Regions from separate parts of the Homo sapiens genome. Here region 2 is linked to region 1. Evidence: promoter capture Hi-C in human tissues and cell types (Jung and others, 2019). All regions are on one chromosome and are shown on one strand. The core of a region is centred on a gene start or on the middle of the fragment in contact, and the rest is flanking DNA. Distances in the headings are between cores, read along the strand shown.

Region 1 (6,730 bases), core at 3,109-5,608:
AATTCTAAAGGGAAAAACAAAGGAAGATGAGGACAAATGCATGGGTAATATCAAAAGGTGAAAGATACTGAAGGAGGTAGACTGAAATAGAAGGCTTTTCCCTCCAGAATAATTAGAAACTAAGTAATGTTGCTACTGACATATCTTTGCATAATTCAGGACAATGAAAAGGAATGTTATCTCAAGGTGCTTTCCAAAGTAGTTACGTGGTAGTCAGTGTCATCGCCTTTGTTATAGGAGGAGAAACTGAGGTGGGCAGCAAGCTGTGCTTACTGGACTACTAAGTGACTGGCCCAAGGCTTGCCTTTGTTTCCTTAGCCTGCCTCCCTTGTAATTAACGTAAGAGCTTGCTAAATGCCTGAAATAGAGAGCATCTGCCTCATCCTACTGTGTTTATGAAACAATGGTTTCACTCAGGATCAGCTAAAGAGGTGCAGATTTAAAGTAAGGCAAGCTGAGGCTACCACTAAAATCTGAATCCTGGGCATGGCCATGAGATGGCTGGAGGTGTAGGGGCCAAGGGTTTGGCCCTCTGAAGATTTGCTGAAAAATCAAAATTAGCCAGGCGTGGTGGCCTGCACCTGTAGTCCCAGCAACTTGGGAGGCTGAGACAGGAGAAGTACTCAAGTACAAAAGGCAGAGTAATTGGGGAAAAGGCATACACGTTTATTTAGCATGTGTTTATACATGGGAGTGTACAGAATGAAAACTCAGAAATACAGGGGAGAGTTTCCATTTTTATGCTTAGGTTCAACAAAGTATGGACAGCTGTGTAGAAATACGATAGGACAAAAAAGGTCTGATCTAACGCTAACAGCCTGAGTGGGGGAACCCAGCAAGGCCTGTCTCTCTAGATTCTTCTTGGCCTCTCTGAGCAGCATTCCTTCCTTCTGGGTATGGGCCACTCTCTGGAATGGGGGTCAGATAATTTCTTTATGGCCAGTTTTTACACAGAAAGGCAAAGGGAAAATTGGAGTAATATTTTTAGGTTTTATGGCTGGCTTTGGGAAAAAAGCATTCTGATTTCTGTAACCTGCATTGGAGAAGAGGGATTCTAGTTTCTCAGGCTAGCCTCGGAGGGAGACTGGGACTGAGAGACAGGAGGGCAGAAGAAGGTCAGAGAAAAACGTGTTTCTGAGGCTATTTCCGAAGCCTTCATTTTGGGGTACTGTTTTCCGAGCCCCAACAGAAGGAAGGTGCATTTTCTTTGGCCTTGGGATTGATGTTGAGCTGGGTCTGAGCTGCTGTAGAAAATGACCCACTGTCCAACCTCCTACGCTGGGCCAGAGCCAGACCAGACCCAAGGGTTTGGAGAGGGCACAATTTCCAAGTTGTCGCTTTCATATTTCACATCTCCACAGCCGTGCACATTTAGCAATGAGGGAATGGCCAGCCATGATTTTGATGCTGATGTCAAAGCATTCAAAAGTCTCCAGAGAAAGGAAGACCAGTTGAGTGGGGGTGATAATATGAAAGGAACATTTTTAAGAATAAGTTCTGTTAAGAAAAAAAAAGAATCTTAGAGGATGTATTTATGGATGACAAATCTCACAAGGACTCTAAGGGATCAGGAATCAGTTTGAGTTCTGAAATAACAGAAAAAGGCATGAACAGAAACACAAAGCAAGGAAGAGGGGAAATGTGTAAGCCAGATATTTGGAATTTACACACACGTGTGCATGTGCACACACAAGCACACATAATTTGTCTCAAGAGCGGGGAACATTTCCCAGCTAGATATACATTTGTAGAAAGCATTAGCTGGAAATACATGTACCCCAATATTTACTCCCATTCGCAATTTTTCTCGTAATTGTAAGGTGGAAAAGGTTATATAATACATCTAAGGCTCAGGTTACTCAATTATAAAATAGGAATAACTAGGCTGAGCTCAGAGACTCATGCCTGTAATTCCAGCACTTTGGGAGGCTGAGGCCAGCAGATCACCTGAAGTCAGGAGTTCGAGACCAGCCTGGCCAACATGGCAAAACCCGTCTCTACTAAAAATACAAAAAATTAGCCGGGCGTGGTGGCTGGTGCCTGTAATCCCAGCTACTAGGGAACTAGGGAGGCTGAGGCAGGAGAATTGCTTGAACCTGGGAGGCAGAGGTTGCAGTGAGCCGAGATCACACGATTGCACTCTAGCCTGGGTGACAGAGCAAGACTCTGTCTCAAAAAAATAAATAAATAAAAATTAAAAATAAGAAATAAAATAGGAATAACTGGTGGTACCTGCTTCATTGGATTATCAGGCATATACATTGGTTAATCCATATAAAATGTTCAGCACTATGCCTGGCATATAGTCACCACACCATACATTTCAGAAAATACTATTTTTGCAATAATTAAATCAATTGAAACATTTATTGAGTGCCTTACCTACTACAGTACATGCCAGGCACTCTGTTAGATAGAATATGGGCAGATATCACCTTCAAGGTGTTGAAAAGAAAGTGATTGAGACGTTGTAAATGAATAATTACAATGTAACTGAGTAAGGGGCTGTAATTAAATCATTATAACGAAGCAAGGATCTTGGAGGAGACAGCAACTTTTGTTTTCTCTCCTTTTTTTTTTTTTGTATTTTTTCTAGTAATTACACTTCCTGAACAATCAGGAAAAATGACTTGTGAGTTAGAAGTGTAATGACTAGAATTTAGGCAGGTTAAAAAAGAAAAGGAGATAAAAAGGAGGTACTATTACAGGAAGAGTAACAATGATGTATGCCCTGGAGGAGAGTGTTTAGGAAAATTGTAAAATGTCCGATGTGCTTGACATGTAGTGGGCGCTGGGAAGGTGATGAGCAGATACCTAAGGGATGGCTGCAGAATTAGGGTTTCCTCCTTCCGGCATTAGGAGGCAGTTGAGCAGGTCTGTATTTTAGAGCAGCAGTATGGAAAACAGCCGAAGGAAGAGAGGGCCCTAGAAGGGAAACCTCCAAGGAGGCTGCAAGGAATGAGGCCTGCACAAATCTTGTTCGTTCACTTACATCGATTGTGCTTCTACCACTGTGCTTCTACTATGTGCCCAGCACAGTTTTAAAGGGTTGGGGATACAGAAATGAACTAGACAGACAAGGCCCCGGCCCACATGGAGTTTGATATTCTACTGGGGAGAGACAGACAATACAAAAACAAACAAGTAAACAGCAAGATTATGAGGAGTACAAAGAAGTAAATAACAACGGGGTGTCATGAAATAGAGTAAGGTAGGTGGAAGGTGGGAAGAGCTTCTTTAAAGGGAAGGTCTTTCTGAGGAGAAAATGGAAATGCAGAGGAAAGAGTCAGGAGTCAGGGATCAAAGAACCTGAGAAACCCCTGACATTGTTTTCAACATGTGGTATATAAGTGCATTTTTATGGGGAGATTCTCAGAGGGACATGGCCGTGATCTCATCCCCCCAAATGTTTAGTATTCATTTGCTGTACCTAAATATATAATTAATTTTGTTTTAAATTTTTCTCTATATCAAAAGGTGGGGGTGATGATAGCTATGCAGATATATCTAACTAGATAGAGAGAGATTCTTCCCCCACCCCTCCACTTATTTCATGAAGCTGTAATAGGAGATATGCATTTCGGGGTACAAAATTGGGCTGTGTGATTTACATGTATCCTCTACATGAAAAAAGAAAAAAAATCATCTTTTGTTTTTCCTATTGAAAGGCCGACGACGGACCTGAAACTGACCGGATGAGCTTGGTGTCAACAAGGATGCCTCTTCTTCTATGTTAATATATTGTACAAGCATAGATATAACTTCACATGTATCAATGCGTATATATTGTAGCTTAGTCTGGAGGACTACGTACCGGGCGGTGCTCCTGGCTTGATGTGAGCAGGCGGTGGGAATGGAGGGTGGAGGCGGGTGGGCCGGGCCCCGGGTCCCAGAGGCCCACTGGCCATGTCGCGGAGAGCTCAGCCTGGAGAGGCCCAGGGAAGGGCCTGGAGGCCTCGGGGAAGGCCTGGGGAGGGTCAAGGAAGCCCGAGGAGGCCCAGGAAGGCCGAAGAAGGTCCAGGACGCCTGGGGGAAAGTCCGAGAAGGCCCGAGAAGGCCCGGGAGGCTCAGGCTTTCCCGCGAGGCCGGGGGCGGCCCCTTCAGGCCAGGATGGCCGAGTGGGCTGCGCAGCCCCGCGGGGGAGGCCGGGCGGGGCGCAGGGACAGGGCCTGAGGCTTGTTGTCCTCCCCTGGCGGCCCCGTGCGTCCCGCGGGCCCGGCGGCCGGGTGACCCCCGAGAGGCTCCGCGCCTGGGCGGCCGGCGGCGACCCCGCGGCCCGCGAATACGCGTGGACCTTGTGGAACGCCGGGCCTCCCCGGGCGCCCCCGCTCTCTGGTAGTTGCCGGGAGACCCGGCCGGTGGGGAAGCCCGCGGAGCCGCAGCCCCGGCCCCGGAAGGTCTCTCTGGGCCCCGGGCCCGACTCCCACCCCTGCGCCGGCCCGCGGGCTTCGCAGGCCCTGCACTGCCGACCGGGCTGCGCTCAAGGCCGCCAGCCGCCCGCCGCCCTCTTTGTCCCCCCGCTGCAGGAAGGCCGCGGCAGAGGGGGCGCCCTCCAAGCCGTCAGCCACGCACGCGGAGGCGCTCGGGCCTCGGGGCGGCGCACCGGGAGAGCACGCCGGGGAGGACACGTGGGCCTTCGCGCGGTGGGTTGAGAGCCCCGGCCCCGGGGAATCCCGCAGCCCCCTCCTGCTACCCCTGGAACTGGGCTCCCCACCCAGTCCGGCCACAGCTCAGGAGGAAAAGGGGATTCCTCTTCACGGGGGCCTTGCGGCTCCCTTGAGACACGCGCCTTCAAGCACTCTGGCCCCTAAAGCTCCTGTCCCCCAACTCGCAGTCCCCAAGGCGTCCTTTGTCCCCAGGGCCGTCCTTCAGGTGCGGTGGCCTTTTCCAGGAGCTGGATGCCCTCCTTCTTGACACACACCCGGTGGCCCCAGGCAGCGCCACCTGCTCAGCAACCGCCTTCCTCCTGCATTCAGACCTAGTGTCTGGCATGCACACACTCGTGGACCAATAACCGGTGTTGGCTGAAAACCTACCTAAACTAAATCTCCTATTTCTTCATACACTTTTCTGTAGGAGACAATCAATTGTAAACGATTAGCAGATAGACCGATTACTGCGGTGGCTTTAATTTGTGATTCTTGGCCGGGTGCAGTGGATCACGCCTGTAATCCCAGCACTTTGGGAGACTGAGGCAGGTGGATCACGAGGTCAGGAGTTCAAGACCAGCCTGGCCAACATGGTGAAACCCCATCTCTACTAAAAATATAAAAATTAGCTGGGCGTAGTGGTGCTCGCCTGTAATCCCAGCTGCTCGGGAGGCTGAGGCAGGAGAATCGCTTGAACCCGGGAGGCGGAGGTTGCAGTGAACCGAGATCGCGCCACTGCACTCCAGTCTGGGCAACAGAGCGAGACTCTGTCTCAAAAAAAAAAAAAAAAAAAAAAGTGATTCTTTCCAGATAGCCATACCTTAATCCAGTGACTGTTTTGCTTGTTACCTTAGAGTTCTCTAATTCTTTTACCTTAAACGGCAGTGGGTTAAAACCCTTTAGGTACCTTGATTGATTGGTGCGGAAAATATTGTTTGGTCCTGGGGGCATTTTGTTGTCTCCGAAATATGCACGGGGTGCTTGCCTGGCCTAGTTGTAAGGGTTCAACCCTGCTTTCAAATGGAGCAATTGTTTTGAATGAATAAAAGGAGACTTTGTGCCCCTGTTTTCTAAGTTCCAGATAATTCACCATAGTTTGTTCCAATGTGTATTTCATCTTCTTAGCTGATATTTGCTTTCTCACCTCTGATCTCAATTTCCTAATCTTCTGTTCTGAGATCTGCCAGTTTGCTGTTGTCTGTGCTCCTTTTGAGTCAGGCTTGCCCCTTGCTTCTGGTTGGTTTCGTACTGTCACCCCCACCCTGCTCTCCTAGCCCCTCTCTTCTGCTTTCTAAGCATTCTCTTACCTCCTTTAGATGGGAAATCAAAACTCACACTTTCTTTTTTATAAATGTTGACCCTTACCCATAAATGTGCCTATCCCGCAATCTGTGTAGGATTTTAAGGAAACAGAGCAACAGCTACAACAAAATGGGGAGAAGAAATGAGAACTGTGCTAACAGCCTACGTGTGTCAAACATCTCTCAGGAGGTATGGCAGGCGCTGTTGAACTTGAGTGTTTGGGCAGCGGCTCCTGTTGCTAACACGTAACTCCCATGGAGTTTTCTTGTAGTGATGCCCTTGCTGCGTTTGCATCGTGGGCAGTTTATCCTGTGTTTTCCTTTTGGCACATTTGGAACAGCAAATGGAAATTTTCTATTTCTTTTAACAAAGGGAAAATTAGCCAGCTCTTCTCCAAATGTCAAACATTTCTAATTGCAATTTGGCTTTGTTAAAGGTGCTGCCTTGTTATCAACCAGGCAGTGCTCACTTCTTTTGTTTTCACACACACACCCTTTGTGAAAAATATTGGTAAGGCAGGTGGGATATCACAAAGCATAATCAAGTCCCAACTCTTAAGAAATTTGCAAACTGTCAGACTTCATGTTTAGTTAATGAGCATTCTTTACCAGTTGATCAATTTGGTTATGTTAATTTTTTGTTGTTTTGGTGTTTTTTGTTTGTTTGTTTTGGAGACGAGACTTAGTCTTCCTCTGTCTCCCAGGCTGGAGTGCTGTGGCACGATCTCAACTCACTATAACCCCCACCTCCCGGGTTCAAGCGATTCTCCTGCCTCAGCC
Region 2 (7,597 bases), core at 383-2,882, 36 kb before region 1:
TGGGGACAGAGGGCAATTCTGTATGGGGATTACTTGAGCAGGATGCTAGGCAGTATTTGCTGAGCACTTTTACTTTGGAATCCAGGTGAGAAGCATGGATTAGCTACTTTGAGAGTCTTATTGTATAGCACTTTTGTTTTTGTATGTGGTAGTGAGTGACTGATTGCTTTTATATTCTTGCTATTCAAAATGTAGTCCTGGAGCCAGAAGCTTGAGCAGCTACCTGAGGCTTTTTGGAAATGTATTATCACAGGCCTGCCCCACACCTACTGAAGCGATTTATATGCACACTGAATTTTGAGAAGCACTGTCTTATATTACACATGCAGCTTAAGATTTAACAGCATTAGGGCCGAGAACAGTGGCTCACACCTGTAGTCTCAGTACTTTGGGAGGCCAAGAAGGGCAGATCACCTGAGGTCAGGAGTTCAAGAACAGCCTGGCCAACATGGCAAAACCACATCTCTATTTAAAAAATACAAAAATTAGCCAGGCGTGGTGGTGGGCGCCTGTAATCCCAGCTACTCTGGATGCTGAGGCAGGGAGAATTGCTTGAACCCGGGAGGCAGAGGTTGCAATGAGCCAAGATTGCACCACTGCACTCCAGCCTGGGCGACAGAGTGAGACTATGTCTCAGAAAAAAAAAAAAGATTTAACAGGATTTATTAAATGAACATGGGAGAAACAAGAACCAGAATCATAGAATAATCTCACTCCTATTAGATTAACTCTTTTTTTCTTTTTGAGACAGAGTCTCACTTGTCACCCAGGCTGGAGTGCAATGGTGCGATCTCAGCTCACTGCAACCTCCGCCTCCCGGGTTCAAGCAATTCTCTTGACTCAGCCTCCTGAGTAGCTGGGATCACAGGCATGTACCACCACAACCAGCTAATTTTTGTATTTTTAGTAGAGATGGGGTTTCACCATGTTGGCCAGGCTGGTCTTGAACTCCTGACCTCAACTGATCTGCCCGCCTCGGCCTCCCCAAGTGCTGGGATTACAGGCATGAGTCCACGTCCAGCCTAGGTCAACTCTTAACCTTATTGTTGGTTTTGTTTTTCCAGGCCTTGAGAATTTCAAAAGAGGTAATCAGGAAAAGAGAGAGAGAAAAACTACACGCTGTTAATGCTGAAGAATGCAATGTCCTTCAGGGAAGATGGCTATCAGATGAATGCACAAATGCTGTGGTGAACTTCTTATCCAGAAAATCAAAACTGTGATGACCACTACAGCAGAGTAAAGCATGTCCAAGGAAGGATGTGCTGTTACCTCTGATTTCCAGTACTGGAACTAAATAAGCTTCATTGTGCCTTTTGTAGTGCTAGAATATCAATTACAATGATGATATTTCACTACAGCTCTGATGAATAAAAAGTTTTGTAAAACAAGCTTAAGAATTCACACAGGTGTTTGGTAGTAGAGAGTCTTACGTCTTTTGACATGAATCGTTGTTGCCAGGAACACTGGAACATGGTGCCTGGGGTCCTACTTTGAAAAGCACTCACAGCATTACAGGCTGAAGTCATGTCTTTGAATGCCACTATAGCACTTTGACGTCCACAAACAGTGGCTGACTGAATTGGGCCAAATGCTGACAGCCTACAGATCACTGACTTGAGGTCTTCAGTGGGTTGCATGTTCTTTTTCAGCCATGTAGCAAGGGAGCAAAATGGAAGGAATAGTATTACTAGAAAACAAATAAGAATCAAGAATAAGAATAAGAACCCAAATAAGAATCTTAGTTGGGTTTTTTTGCACAATTTAATAAAGAGGCATGAAGGGAAAACTGGGTCATTTCATTGGAAAGCAATGCTCTGTATGAGTAATTGTTTTCTTATTTGTTAGAGTCCCATTCTTGTTTAATGTGGTACTTTATGAAAGGCATCCCTGCAAGCTGCCTTGATTGTCCTTGTAACACCCTGTTTTGATTTCATAGCTATCACTTGACAAGGACTGAGGGTGTAATTCCAAGGGCTACAGAAAAGGATGGGATATTTTGCTTTTCTTAGTCTTCCTTTTGACCTTTCCTTTAAGGTCAAAGTTAGCTAACTCACCAAATCTCTTAACTTTTTAGTTCTAAATTTTTTATTCCAGTAATTGTAATCCAAGATGTTCAGTTTTATAGAAAATATAAGAATAGAAATAAGCATTCGTTTCAATTGAGCAGTTACTAGTGCTTAATGCCCATTATCATATTTTATCCACCAAAAACAATGCCAAAAATTAAAAATGAGGTAGGTCTGTTGCTACTACCCATTTTCAAGTAGGCATCCCGAGGCATGGAGATTAAACTAGCTTCTCCAGAGTCAAACTCCCAGTAAATGTCAAAATGAAGATAAAAATCTAGGCAGAGTTCTCATCCCACAATGGCAGCACAAGCCAACTACTGCCCATTCCTCCACAAATTACAACTAAAATCTCTAGAAGAAATACGAAAAAGAACTACTTGAGCATGCTGAAATTAATCAAAAGCAGGTGGATTGTTAAAGGGTGTCAAAATACAGAGAAGCAACTGCACAAGGATAAGTTTCCCAGATTATGAGAAATAAACACAATTGCTGGAATCTAACTCCGGAGCATGGTATTAGAAGTAAGGCAAAACTGCAGTTACTTTTGCACCAACCTAATACTTCTGCCTCAGAGGCACACCCCTATTGTGGGGTGGTGCTGCGGTGACCATGGAGTGGCCAGCCAAATAGAAGTTGAGGAAAACAAAAACACTTTGAAAAGGAAAAGGGCCCTCTGGGGGCTAAAGAGTGAAAGCAAGAAGAGACTCCCAGAGCCAAGAGAAAGAAGCTCTAATTCTGTGTATGAACCTAGATAAGTCTGATTCATAAGTGAGACAGACTCAAACCAGCATAGCAAAGGCTTTGCGAAGTGTACTGGGATTTTAACCACCACCCACAGAAGATCAAGACAGCTTGTAGTCTGAACCTAACCAGATTGATTTCTTGCTAAAACAAAAATGGCATTTTCCAGATGATTGTAACATGATCCACAAAAACATAACTTCCATCCAATGCCACAATATAGTAAATACAGTAAATATCCAGGATCCATATGACATAATATTGGATCCAACCATACAATAGAATATCTAAGGCCCTGAGAAGAAGCTGTCATATGGATCCAGGATCCATATGACATAATATTTACAAAATGATGTGACATAAAAAGAAACATGGAAATGTGAACACTTGGACAGAAGGAGCAGAGTGAAACTTGTTGCAACATCCTGGCCTGTCTGTGGGCTGCCTACAGAAATGGTGTCTGTAATGTCCAACTCAGGTATCAGACTGGAGACAGCAAATAGTTTTGATTTCAGGCTGGAAGCCACAGAAGGCAGTGGTGAGCAATGCAGCACATGAAAACTACACAGGGATTGCTGCCCTGTGGACCTCTGAGGGCAGGAGATTACAGAGGAATACAATAGAATATCTAAGGCCCTAAGAAAAAGCTGCAGTGAGACTGTTTAGGAAATGAAGACCTTTAAAATCACCTTTGATGGGGACAGGGAGCACACACACATTCACAGGAAGGAAGCATGCCTAGAAAAGACCTGAGAAGACCTGGACTAATCTCAGATTAGTGAAGACCTCATGGACTTACAAATTAGTGAGGTCTTACATGCCAGTCTGCAAAGACTGGGAGAGTGGCCATATTTTTTTTAAATACCCAATTTTCAAAAAAAGATCATAAGGCATGCAAAGAACCAGGGAAAGATGGCCCACTGAAATGAACAAAACACATCTCCAGAAACAGTTCTGGAAGAAACACAGGCATCAGGCTTACTAGACTTTAAAACAACTGTCAGCCAGGTGCGATGGCTCATGCCTATAATCCCAGCACTTTGGGAGGCCAAGGCAGTCAGATCACTTGAGGCCAGGAGTTGACACTAGCCTGGCCAACATAGTGAAACCCCATCTCTACTAAAAATACAAAAAAATTAGCAGAGCATGGTGCTGCACACCTGTAATCCCAGCTACTCAGAAGGCTGAGGCATGAGAATCACTGGAACCCAGGAGGCAGAGGTTGCAGTGAGCCAAGATCACATGACTGCGCTTCAGCCTGGGCAACAGAGTGAGAGTCTGTCTCAAAACAACAACAAAAAAAAACCACAAATGTCAAATATACTCGCAGAACTGTAGAAAAACATGAACAAAGAACAAAGGAAAGTCAAGAAAACATATGAACAAAATGAGAACATCAACAAAGAAATTATAAAAAAAAATATTGAGCTGAAAAGTACAATAACTAATTTGAAAATTTTATTAGAGGAGTTCAACAGCAAACTCAAATAAGTAGAAGAAAGAATAAGCAAATTTGAAAACAGCTCATTTGAAATTATTGAATTTGAGAAGCATACAGAAGAAAAAATAAAGTGAACAGAGGCTTAGGGACTTATGAGATGCCATCACACTGACCAATATATGCATAATGGGAGTCCCAGAAGGAGGTGAGAAAAATGAGGAGAGAGACTATTTGAATAAATAATAGCTGAAAACCTGCCAAATATGAGGAAAGACATGGATATACAAATCCAAGCTCAATGGTCTCCAAGTAGGACAAACCTGAAGAGACCCATACGAAGACACATAATCAAAGCTGACAAAAGTGCAAGATAAAGAGAATCTTGGAAGGCATCAAGAGAAAAGTGACTATATACAAGAGATCTGCGATAAGACTATCCGAGTATTATTTCAGCAAGAACCTTGGAGACTAGAGGCAGTGGGGTGATATATTTAAAGTGCTGAAAATTTTAAAAAAAACTGTCAACTGAGAGTTCTATACCTGGTAAAATGTTTCTTCAAAAATGAGGGAGAAATTAAGACATTCCCATAAAAACAAAAGCTGAGGGAATTTATTATTACTACACTTGCCCTACAAGAAATGTTAAAGGAAGTCCTCCAGTTTGAAATGAAATAATGCTAGATAGTAACTGGAAGACAGATGAAAATATAAAGTTCTCCAGTAAAGGTAAATATATGAACAAATATAAAAACAGTATTAATGTAATTTTGGTTTATAACTCCACTTTTGATTTTCTACAGGATTTAAGAGACAATTGCATAAAATAATTATGAATATATGTTAATGAATATATAATATTAAACCGTATAATTTGTGACATCAATAACATAAGGGGAGAAAAGCTTTAAGGAAGTAGAGTTTTTATATGCAATTGAAGTTAAGTTGGTATCAATTAAGATAGATCATCATAACTCTAGGATGTTATATGTAGTGCACATAGTAAACACCAAGAAAATATACGCAAGCAGAAGTGAGAATCAAAATATGCCATTACAACAACTTTAAACATGAAGGAAGGCAGTAATCAAGGAAATGAGGGAGAAAAAAACCTGTAAGGGACAGAGAAAACAACAAAATGGCAAAACTAATTGCTTTCTTTTCAGCAATTTATATGTAATTGGATTGAAAACATATCAAAAATCATAAGTTGGCAGAGTGGGTATAAAACCAGGATCAACTATATACTGTTTAAAAGAGTCTCACTTTAGATCTAAGGATATGAGTAGGGTGAAAGTGGAAGGATTAAAAAGATATTCCATGCCAATAGTAATAAAAAGAGAGCAGAAATGGCTATACTAATTGACAAAATAGACTTTAAGTCAAAAACTGTTAAAAGAGACAAAGACAGACATAATATAATGCTAAAAGTCTCAATTTACCAAGAAGATATGACAATTATAAACATATGCACTAAATATTAGAGCTCCAAAATATATGAAGCAAACATTGACAGAATTGAAGAATAAATGGCCCTACAATAATAGTAGAAAACTTCAATACCTCCACTTTCTTCAGTGGATAGAGAACCAGGTAGAAGATCATAGGGGAATATAGGACTTAAAAAACACTATAGACCCACTGGACCCAGCAGACACATACAGTACACTGCACTTAACAACAACAGAATATGTATTTTTTAAGTGCACATGGAGCATTTTCCATATGTTAAGCCATAGGACATCTTAATAGATTTAAAAATTGAAATACAAAATATCATTTCTCATCACAATGAAATGAAACTAGAAGTTAACAGCAAAAACCTGGACAATTCACAAGTATGTAGAAATTAACACACTTTTAAATAACCAATGGGTCAAGAAAAATCACAAAAAATTTAAAATATCTTGACACAAATGAAAACACGACAAACCAAAACTTATGGGAGGATCTGAAAGCAGTGCTAAGATGGAAATTTGCAGCTGCAAACACATTAAGAAAAAAGAAAGATTTTGAATAAACAGCCTAGATTTACACCATAAGAAACTAGAAAAAGAACAAACTAAATCCAAAACTAGCAGAAAGAAGGAAAAAATAAAGATTAAAGATAAATAAATACTAGCAATGAAAATTCCAAAAAGGAAATTGAGAAAAACCATTCAATTTATAATAACATCAAAAATAACCAAATTTAGGAATGAGTTTATCCAATGAGGCATAATACTTAGTGAAAACTACAAAACATTACTGAAATAAATTACAGAAGACAAATAAATAAATGGGAAGACTTCACATGTTCACGGATTAAAAGACTTAGTATTATTGAGATATTAATACTACCCAAGGTGATTTGCAGATTTAATGTAATTCTATCAAGGTCCCAACAATGTGTTTGCAGATATGTAAAATGTATTCTAAAATGCATATGGAATCTTAAGGGACCCCAAATAGGCATAATTACCATACAATCCCACAATTCCACTTCTGGGTATGTCTTAGTCCATTTTTGTTGCTATGATAGAATACCATAAACTGAGTAATTTATAAAGAAAATATATTTATTTGGCTCATGGTTCTGGAGCCTGGGAATCCAAGATTGAGGGGCCACATGTGGTAAGGGTCTTCTTGCTGCATCATATCATGGCAAAGGCATAGCATGTCAAGGAACCACACAAGTGAAACAGAGAGAAAAAGGAGATTGACCTTCTGACATACTAACCCACTCCCACAGTAATGGCATTAATCCACTCATGAGAGCAGAACCCTCATGACCTAATCACACCTTAAAGGTCTCACCGTTCAATACATCACATGGCAATTAAATTTCTTTTTTTTTTTTTTTTTTGCCACGAAAAGATTGTTTTATTCCATGAAAATATTCTCAACAGAAAACACTACCTTTAAATGAAGGATTTACCATTAAGAAATCAACATGTGCACAAAAAGAGTACAAATTACCAAAAAATTAAAGATTTTTGGGGACATTTCACATGTTTAAAATTTAAGAATGATTTAAACTGTGCAAATACAGATGTCTTTCCTATTATAATAGCCCATATACAGGTTGCACTATTCCACGTCAAGGAACTTGCCTGCTACGGAAGCAAATCCTGCTTTTAGAAAAACAAACAGTGGCTTGAAAAGAACAGTTAGTCCTTACAAGAAAGTCTTAAACTTTGCCCTCTGTGGCTGTTAACCAAAAAACCATAAGCATTTCAGGCTTTGTACAGAAGACAAACACAGCCAGATCACATTTCCTCCTCATTGCTAACCTTTAAAATAAAAATAGCACTAGATTTTAAAACTACTTCATGTAGTCTGTCAGTACTGAATAACGTCACATTATATA

Evidence for each region. The method cuts DNA at HindIII sites, captures the fragments that hold promoters and counts their contacts. A contact is called where the count stands out against the background at its distance.
Region 2: a contact is called between a fragment that was not itself captured here and the fragment with the promoter of FAM217A in region 1, in 6 of the 25 tissues and cell types used here (H1 embryonic stem cells, IMR-90 fibroblasts, bladder and 3 more).

Annotation. Positions count from the first base shown.
Region 1 is chr6:4,076,765-4,083,494 of GRCh38, reverse strand. FAM217A (family with sequence similarity 217 member A) reads left to right here and starts at 4,358. Exons shown (of 7, transcript NM_173563.3): 1 at 4,358-4,643; 2 at 6,047-6,140. The coding sequence starts at 6,081. It also overlaps the pseudogene TEX56P. The HindIII fragment of the contact is 11,916 bases long and covers 1-6,730 here.
Region 2 is chr6:4,109,497-4,117,093 of GRCh38, reverse strand. ECI2 (enoyl-CoA delta isomerase 2) reads left to right here. Exons shown (of 10, transcript NM_206836.3): 10 at 1,065-1,388. The coding sequence ends at 1,220. It also overlaps the pseudogene TEX56P. Among named protein-coding and RNA genes, the nearest start is that of ECI2, 22 kb to the left of the region's middle. The HindIII fragment of the contact is 3,279 bases long and covers 1-3,271 here.